Regions from separate parts of the Homo sapiens genome. Here region 2 is linked to region 1. The links are contacts of gene promoters, found by promoter capture Hi-C in human tissues and cell types (Jung and others, 2019). All regions are on one chromosome and are shown on one strand. The core of a region is centred on a gene start or on the middle of the fragment in contact, and the rest is flanking DNA. Distances in the headings are between cores, read along the strand shown.

What was found. The method cuts DNA at HindIII sites, captures the fragments that hold promoters and counts their contacts. A contact is called where the count stands out against the background at its distance.
Region 2: a contact is called between a fragment that was not itself captured here and the fragment with the promoter of TP53INP2 in region 1, in 1 of the 25 tissues and cell types used here (dorsolateral prefrontal cortex).

What each region holds. Positions count from the first base shown.
Region 1 is chr20:34,702,507-34,706,052 of GRCh38, reverse strand. TP53INP2 (tumor protein p53 inducible nuclear protein 2) reads right to left here and starts at 1,709. Exons shown (of 5, transcript NM_021202.3): 1 at 1,541-1,709; 2 at 579-695. It overlaps LOC105372599 (a long non-coding RNA gene), which reads left to right and starts at 1,871. Exons shown (of 2, transcript XR_936690.3): 1 at 1,871-1,916; 2 at 2,240-2,394. RefSeq lists a silencer at 1,434-1,913. The HindIII fragment of the contact is 10,895 bases long and covers 1-3,546 here.
Region 2 is chr20:33,986,940-33,990,485 of GRCh38, reverse strand. No RefSeq gene overlaps it. Among named protein-coding and RNA genes, the nearest start is that of RALY, 5.2 kb to the left of the region's middle. The HindIII fragment of the contact is 5,978 bases long and covers 1-3,546 here.

The DNA of each region.
Region 1 (3,546 bases), core at 460-2,959:
CCAAATTTCAGATAGGTTTAGGGGAGGGAGGCTCAGGGGAAAAGCTCCCTGCCTGAGGTCACACAGCAAGTCAGTGACAGCCAGGAGTGAAAGCAGTCACCAGCCAGCCAGTGCCTGCCCCCTCTCCTGACCACTTGGGGAGCCTCCCAGATTTCCTTTCCCAGCCCTGCCAGCTTCCTGGTTCTCACATTCCCAGTTCTGCTCCAGGGAGAACCATTCCCTTTAATAACTACAGCAGCTCTGCCCAGAATAGCATTTGTGCCCTAAGCCACCCCTACCCCCAGCCCATCCTTGAGCAAACTCCCAGCAGGAATGGAGTTCCTGGTTCAGCCTCTAGGCCCATCCACTTGTTAAGTCAGAAACTCTCCTTATCCTATCCCTTCTCCTATACTCTCTGTGGGCAGAGGTGACGAGGGAGCAGCAAAACACCTGCAATTGTCTGCACTAGGCCAGGTCAGGCCCTTCCTAGCTGACGACCTAGGAAGTTGGGAAGGTAAAGGGCCAATAGAGGGAACCCTCACCCCACCCTCCACCCCAACATCAGCCCTGGAGACACCCCGAGGCAGCCAATGACTCACCTCTCTGTGATCCAAACAGCTGGGAGGCAGCGATTTTATTGGACTCTAGGACTTCAAGGTACAGTGAGGACAGAAGGGGTCAGGACCACAAAAGGTGAACCAATCTCCAGAGATTCCCTGGAAAAGGGTCCAGGAGTAAGGACACCTAGGAGCCTATCAAACCGTGATAAGGCTGAGCCCAAGATCGGGTCCCCAGTGGAAGGAGGATGTGTATCTTACCACTTGTACTGAGCCCCTATTATGTCTTTGCCCCTGGCTAATAATCCATCTGTCACTCAGTGAGCATGACTCTAATTGGTTATGTGACCTCGAGAGAGCTAATCCTCCTCTCTGGGCCTGTTGCCCCTTCCATGCACTGGGGTCTAAGACCCTTCATTTTGGGTCTAGGAGTGACATCAGCTAAGGCGCTGCACACAAATCAGGGATTAGGAGGATGTTATTCTGTTAGTCCCTGGGGGCGGAGTCTGGAGCCGGAGGGAGGGGATCCCACCACCATCTGGTGCTGTCCCAACCACCTGGAGTCCCATGCAGCCCTGAACTCCTGACGACCCCCTCAACCTAGGCCCAGCAGCGCCGTCTGACTCCTTCTCAGGTTGCAAAGAGAAAGTAGGGGATCAGAGGCCTGACCCCAGCCCCTGGATAAGCCTAGGAAATCGCCGATCCCCCTGCAGCCCCCTTTGGATTGCAGCGTCTCACCCAGGGCCCAGCCCCGACACAGCGGCTACCGGGTCACGGGAGGACAAGCGACCCGAGCCTGTGGGGGCGGTACCGGCCTTGGTGACGTCTCAATGTCATATGCAAATAGAACGACGTCATGGTCTACCGGGCGTGCGGCAACCAATCGGGAGCCGGGAACGCGGCCCCGGCGGCCGCCGGCGGAGACAGACAAAGGCCCGGGCGCGGGGGGCGCAGGGCGTGTCCGTGGCAGGGGAGCCCCCAGGCCCACCCGGGTCGGGACTCACCTGGGGGCGGGAGGGGGGCGGCACGGCGTTGAGGTAGTTGTGCGGCGGGGCGTCCCAGGGTCGCCGGCCGCTCACAGGCCGGGCCGCATCGCCGGGACTCGCGGGGGAGGCGGCGGGGCCGCGGTCGCTCCGGGCTGCTGAGCTCGCCCGCGGGGCTTTGAGTCTGTGCGGCCGCTGCGGCGGGGCTCACGGCACAAATTGGAACGTTCAAACAGCTGATTGTGACGTCACAAAGGGGCCCGCCCGCCTCGCGTCACCGGCTGGCGGGGCGGCGGCCAATCCCGGGCTGCGGATCCCCCCCTGCCCCTCCCCTCCCCTCCCCTCCCGGTTTGCGGGCCGGGCGCTCGGGCCGGGAAACGTTCTCGGAACCGGGAGGGTGAGTGTTCGGGGAGGCAGCTGCGGGGAGCTGGGAGCCCTGCGCCGCGGCGAGCTCTCCGCGAGGAGGATCTCCACTCCCTCCTACCGGCTCCTTATTTTCCTGATTCTTCCCGGATCGCAGCGCCCTCACCTCTCCCACTGCTCCCCAAATCCTTTCACTGCATCCTATATCCAAGTCCCCCGATGCGGACCCTGTTCTCGACCCACACCACGTCCGTGCACCTGCATTCTCCCCACTGCCCTTATTCCTGCTCTCCCTCCCCCCTCTGGCTCACCTCCTCAGCCTTACACACTCTGCTTTCCCACCCCGTTTTTCCTCAGCTCGGCGGGCTTGAGAAAAGAGGGACATCCCCAACCCCCGGTTCCCGGGGAGCATCTGGGAATGTAGAGAAGTTAGTGAAGCTGACGTGAAATTTCGCAGAGTAGGACTTGGAGAGGAATTGCCCTGGGCTGAGTAAACATTGACCTGAGACGGCTCCGCGCTTGAACGTTTACATACCTTATTTAATCTATGTTGCTACCGGGGCTGTAAAGAAGTGGCAGGACAGGGACTGATTATGAGTCCTGATTTACACGTGGGAAAGCTGAGTCTCACAATCTCACTGTTAGCGTGTGAACTCATGTTCAACAATGCATTCAACATTTATTAGGCACCTACTATTGCACCACCATACCACTAGCTGACATGTATTGGCACACTTACTGTGTGCCACGACCTGTGCTATGGGTGTGTTTTTTTATCTTCACAACAACCCAAAAGGTAGATATTGTCCCGTTTAACAGTTGAGGAAACAGACTCAGAGAGCTCAAGTGACTTTCTTAGGTCACAAAAGTACAGTCAATGGCAGAGCCAGGATTTGAACCCATAGCTCCCAGCCCTGACCCTCTCCATTCTCTACATGAACCAGATGGTCTAAACCTCAGGGCGCTTTAGCCTCCCCAGAGTCCTGGCTTTCAGTCCTGACTGTGCCCTAGACTTGCTGTGTGACCTCAAGTCATGTTACCTCTCTGGGTCTCAGTTTGTCAAACAAACATATCCAGGCTTCCCTCTAGAGCTGCCATTGTAAGATTCTTCCACACTCTCTGCCCTCAGGATTCCACCCACCCCACGCTCTAGGCCCCAGCTCTCCCAGTGGCCTGGGAGATGCCCGAGAAGAGACCACAAATACACATATCAGAATCTCCAGGGCCAGAGGTTCTAGGTCAGCAGAGCAGGGCTGGTGGGGGAGGGTCCGAGAACTGCCCACCTAGCCCAAAAGGAGGCCGGAGGTGACCTAGGCCAGAGGTTAATGATCTAGTGATAAAACTTTTTTTTTTTTTTTGAGACGGAGTCTCGCTCTTGTTGCCCAGGCTGCAGTGCAGTGGCACGATCTCGGCTCACTGCAAGCTCCGCCTTCCGGGTTCACGCCATTCTCCTGCCTCAGCCTCCCGAGTAGCTGGGACTACAGGCGCCCGCTACCACGCCCGGCTAATTTTTTGTATTTTTTGTATTTTTGTATGTTTAGTGTTAGCCAGGATGGTCTCGGTCTCCTGACCTTGTGATCTGCCTGCCTCGGCCTCCCAAAGTGCTGGGATTACAGGCGTGAGCCACCGTGCCCGGCACTCTAGTGATAAAACTCTATCCCAGC
Region 2 (3,546 bases), core at 389-2,888, 720 kb after region 1:
CCTTTGGGGTCTGTCATCTATTACTACGTAAGAAATCATCCCGAAAATGTAGTGACTTAAAACAACAATGATTTGTTACTTCTCACAATTTTATAGAATGACCAGGTGGTTCTTCTGCTCCATGTGGTGTTGGCTGGGAAAAGCTTCCTCCTGTCTCCACCTCCACATGTTCTATTTCCTTTTCAAGCCCAACTGCCAATGGCGCCTCCACCCTGAAGCCTGCCTCATCTCCTGTGCCACACACATTGCCACTGGCCAAGTCTAAATGAGATGCCGTGCTCTCCAAGCTTTGTTGCTCTTTATGTATAACTATTAGAGCACACATTTAGCTCACCTAGAGAATGGAGGTCTGCCTTGTCCATCTTTATTTCCTTCTGGCACAGTCACACAGGAAAGCCCCATGGGTGCTGTCAGATTGGATTGAACTGAGCTGACTCTTGGAGATATTTAGTCAAACTTGCCCATTTTACAGATGGAGAAATGACAACTGGAGAGGGGAGTTCTACTGGAGAGGGGAGTTCACACATATACACTGAAAGCTGCCCATCAAAAGAGTTGCAGAACCAGGACTACAGCCCTTGCATCTTGACTGCCAGTACGATGCAGGTTAAACTCTGTGTTTGATGCTTGTTGATGTGGACGTCTGGAACTTGAATAGAAGACATTTCTTATTTCAGATGCATCCATTAGCAGGTCTTAGCCAGGAGCCAGGCCCTTGCAAGTATATATTGCAAGTAATTGATGACATTGGAGCCAGAAATCGAATGAACCGGGCCCAGTTCAATCCACTTACTGGACAAGCTCCTCAAGCACTCTAAGCCCCAATTTCCTCCTCTGTAAAGTGGGCATAAATTACATTTACCTTGAGGGTTGCTGTGAAGGCTAGAAATAATATATGTAATGTCCCCTGATACACAGAAGGTGCTCAAGAAATAGTAAGCTCTTCTAATGATTGTTATTGATGGCAAAGATGATGAAAAAACAAATGCTCTGACTTCTCAAAGGAGAGAGAATCATCCCTGAGGATTGTGTCTTGGAGAACATAAATCCATATTTTCTCTTTCCTGAACAAATTCCCTCTGGAAGGGCACAAAGGGAACAAATTCCCTTGTTAGGAAGGAAGGAAGGGAAGGAAGGATGGAAAACAAGAGCAAGGAAGGGTTGGCAGGTTGTGACTGTCTACCTCTCCCTGAGGCTTGCTCTGCTACACCCACCCCAAACTCTGGTCCATCCCATTTCCATGCTGAGATCAGGCCACACACAGAAGTGTTGGTGTCAGACCACCAGCTTTGAGCCATCCCTGGGAATCCCCAGGATACTGGATAGCAGATTTGGAGCATACAGTTCCCACCCACTGTGACTGACGGCTAGGGAGCTCAAGGTTATGGAGGAAGCTCTCATAAGTCAATGCAAGTTTGTGTGTCTCCCGTTCCTCACTGGCTTAGCCCTCAGAGCCCTTGTCCCTGCTTTCTGCCTTGCAACTAGGTCTTCACATTAGTGTTTTATCAAACAAAAGACAGGCTGACATCTTTAAAGTATGGTCTTTATTAAGTAGGGAGCAAATCATTCCACACCTTCCCTCCCAATACCTCCCTCACCAGTGACTTCAAGCCTTCAAACAAGAGGGGACACCTCTCCCCACTTCCCAGTGACCTTTCTCCGCCCCTCATTGCATCCATGAGTGACACCACTGAGATCAGATGCAGTGATGTTAATTGAAATGGACATTAAGGGCTCACTTGCTCAAGCAGAAGCACATTAGAAGAAATATAAACGAGGAAGACATTGGGTCAGTAACATTTGTTCTAATGAGAATAACCATCTCTAGAGCATCTTGTTCAAAAAGGATTGAGTGCCCAGGAAACAACAGATACATGAGGCCTTCCACCCCCACCCCACCCCCAATACTCAGAAGTGTCACACATACTTGCAGAGACTTTTCAATCATCCTTGCTTCAATCATGATTCCCCAGGTGCATTTCTGTGGGTGTCACCCAGCACATTCCCCCTCGTGTTCTTCATCTGTTTCTCCAAATCTACTTCTCCATATTATTTTAAGAGTTTGTGACCAGATGTTGGTAACATGTGGTCCCAGATGTTCTTATTTGCTATACCTCAGGAATTCTTGACTAAGTGACCCAAGAGCTTCTCAACTTTGGATCCAATAAGGGGAACCTAAGGCTAAAAGAATCCCATCTGGAGTAGAGAGGAAGATACCCAATTACCCAATTTTTTTGTTTGTTTTTGTTTGTTTTCTGAGACAGAGTCTCTCTCTGTCACCCAAGCTGGAGTGCTGTGGTGCGGTCATAGCTCACTGCAGCATTGAACTCCTGAGCTAAGCAGTCCTTCTGCCTCAGCCTTCCGAGTGGCTGGGACTATAGGCATGTACCACCATGCCCAGCTAATTTTTAAAAAAAGTTTTTGTAAAGACAGGGTCTCCTTATGTTGCAAAGGCTGGTCTTGAACTCCTGGGCTCAAGAGGTCTTCCCACCTCAGCCTCCCAAAGTGCTGGGATTACAGGCATGAGCCACCACATCTAGCCCAAGTTTCTGCATAAAGAACATGAAGGTTTTCCTTAGATCATGCTTTACATGGCACATCATGTCTTTATGGTTATTAGTGGGCAGTTGCAAGGTATAGATACCATTTTTGTCTATGCTGTATCATCTCCCAATATTCTTAACAGCATCTGACTTAAAAAAATTTTTTTTTTGAGACAAGGTCTTCCTCTGTCACCCAGTATGGAGTGCAGTGCTGCAATCATGGCTCACTGCAGCCTCAACTTCCCAGGCTCAGGTGATCCTCCCACCTCAGCCTCCAGAGTAGCTGGGACCACAGGTCGTGCCACCATGCCCAGCTAATTTTTGTATTTTTTTGTAGAGACAGGGTTTTGCCATGTTCCTCAGGCTGGTCCCTAACTCCTAAGCTCGAGCAATCTGCCCGTCCCAGACTCCCTGTAAGTGCTTGGATTACAGGCATGAGCCATTGTGCCTGGCCAGCATCTGATTTTTCTGTGAGCCTCTACTCCTATTCTTGGTCCAGGCCATAAAGAGTATGGAAACTAAAGTCTGACTGCCTAGGTTTGAATATTGGCTCTGCCATTGACCAGCTATGTGAACCTGGAAAAATTCCTAACCTCTCTGTGCCTCATATAAGAAATGTGGAGAATAGTATCTACCTCATGGAGTTTTTGGGTTATATGAGTTAATTCAGATAAAATGTTTAAAAGAGTGACTGGCACATAGTAAACACCCCCCAAATGTCATCTAGTATTAATATTATTACTATTAGTTCAGAAGGGGCTGACTTCATTCCCCCTGGCCCTGGTGATGGCACCTGACCCAGGCCTGGCCAATCAGGACATTCTGTCCCCCTGTCCACCATGGAGTCCTTCTCCATGGTCAGTCATACCAGTCATTTGGATTGGCACTGTGGGCTGTGATCTAATGTGAACTCTGAAAGCCTGGTCATGCTGGGCCAAAGCTGCAAAGTAAAGGTAAACATCAAATCTGGGCTGGTTCATCAGGAGAGAACATTCTGAGTAGG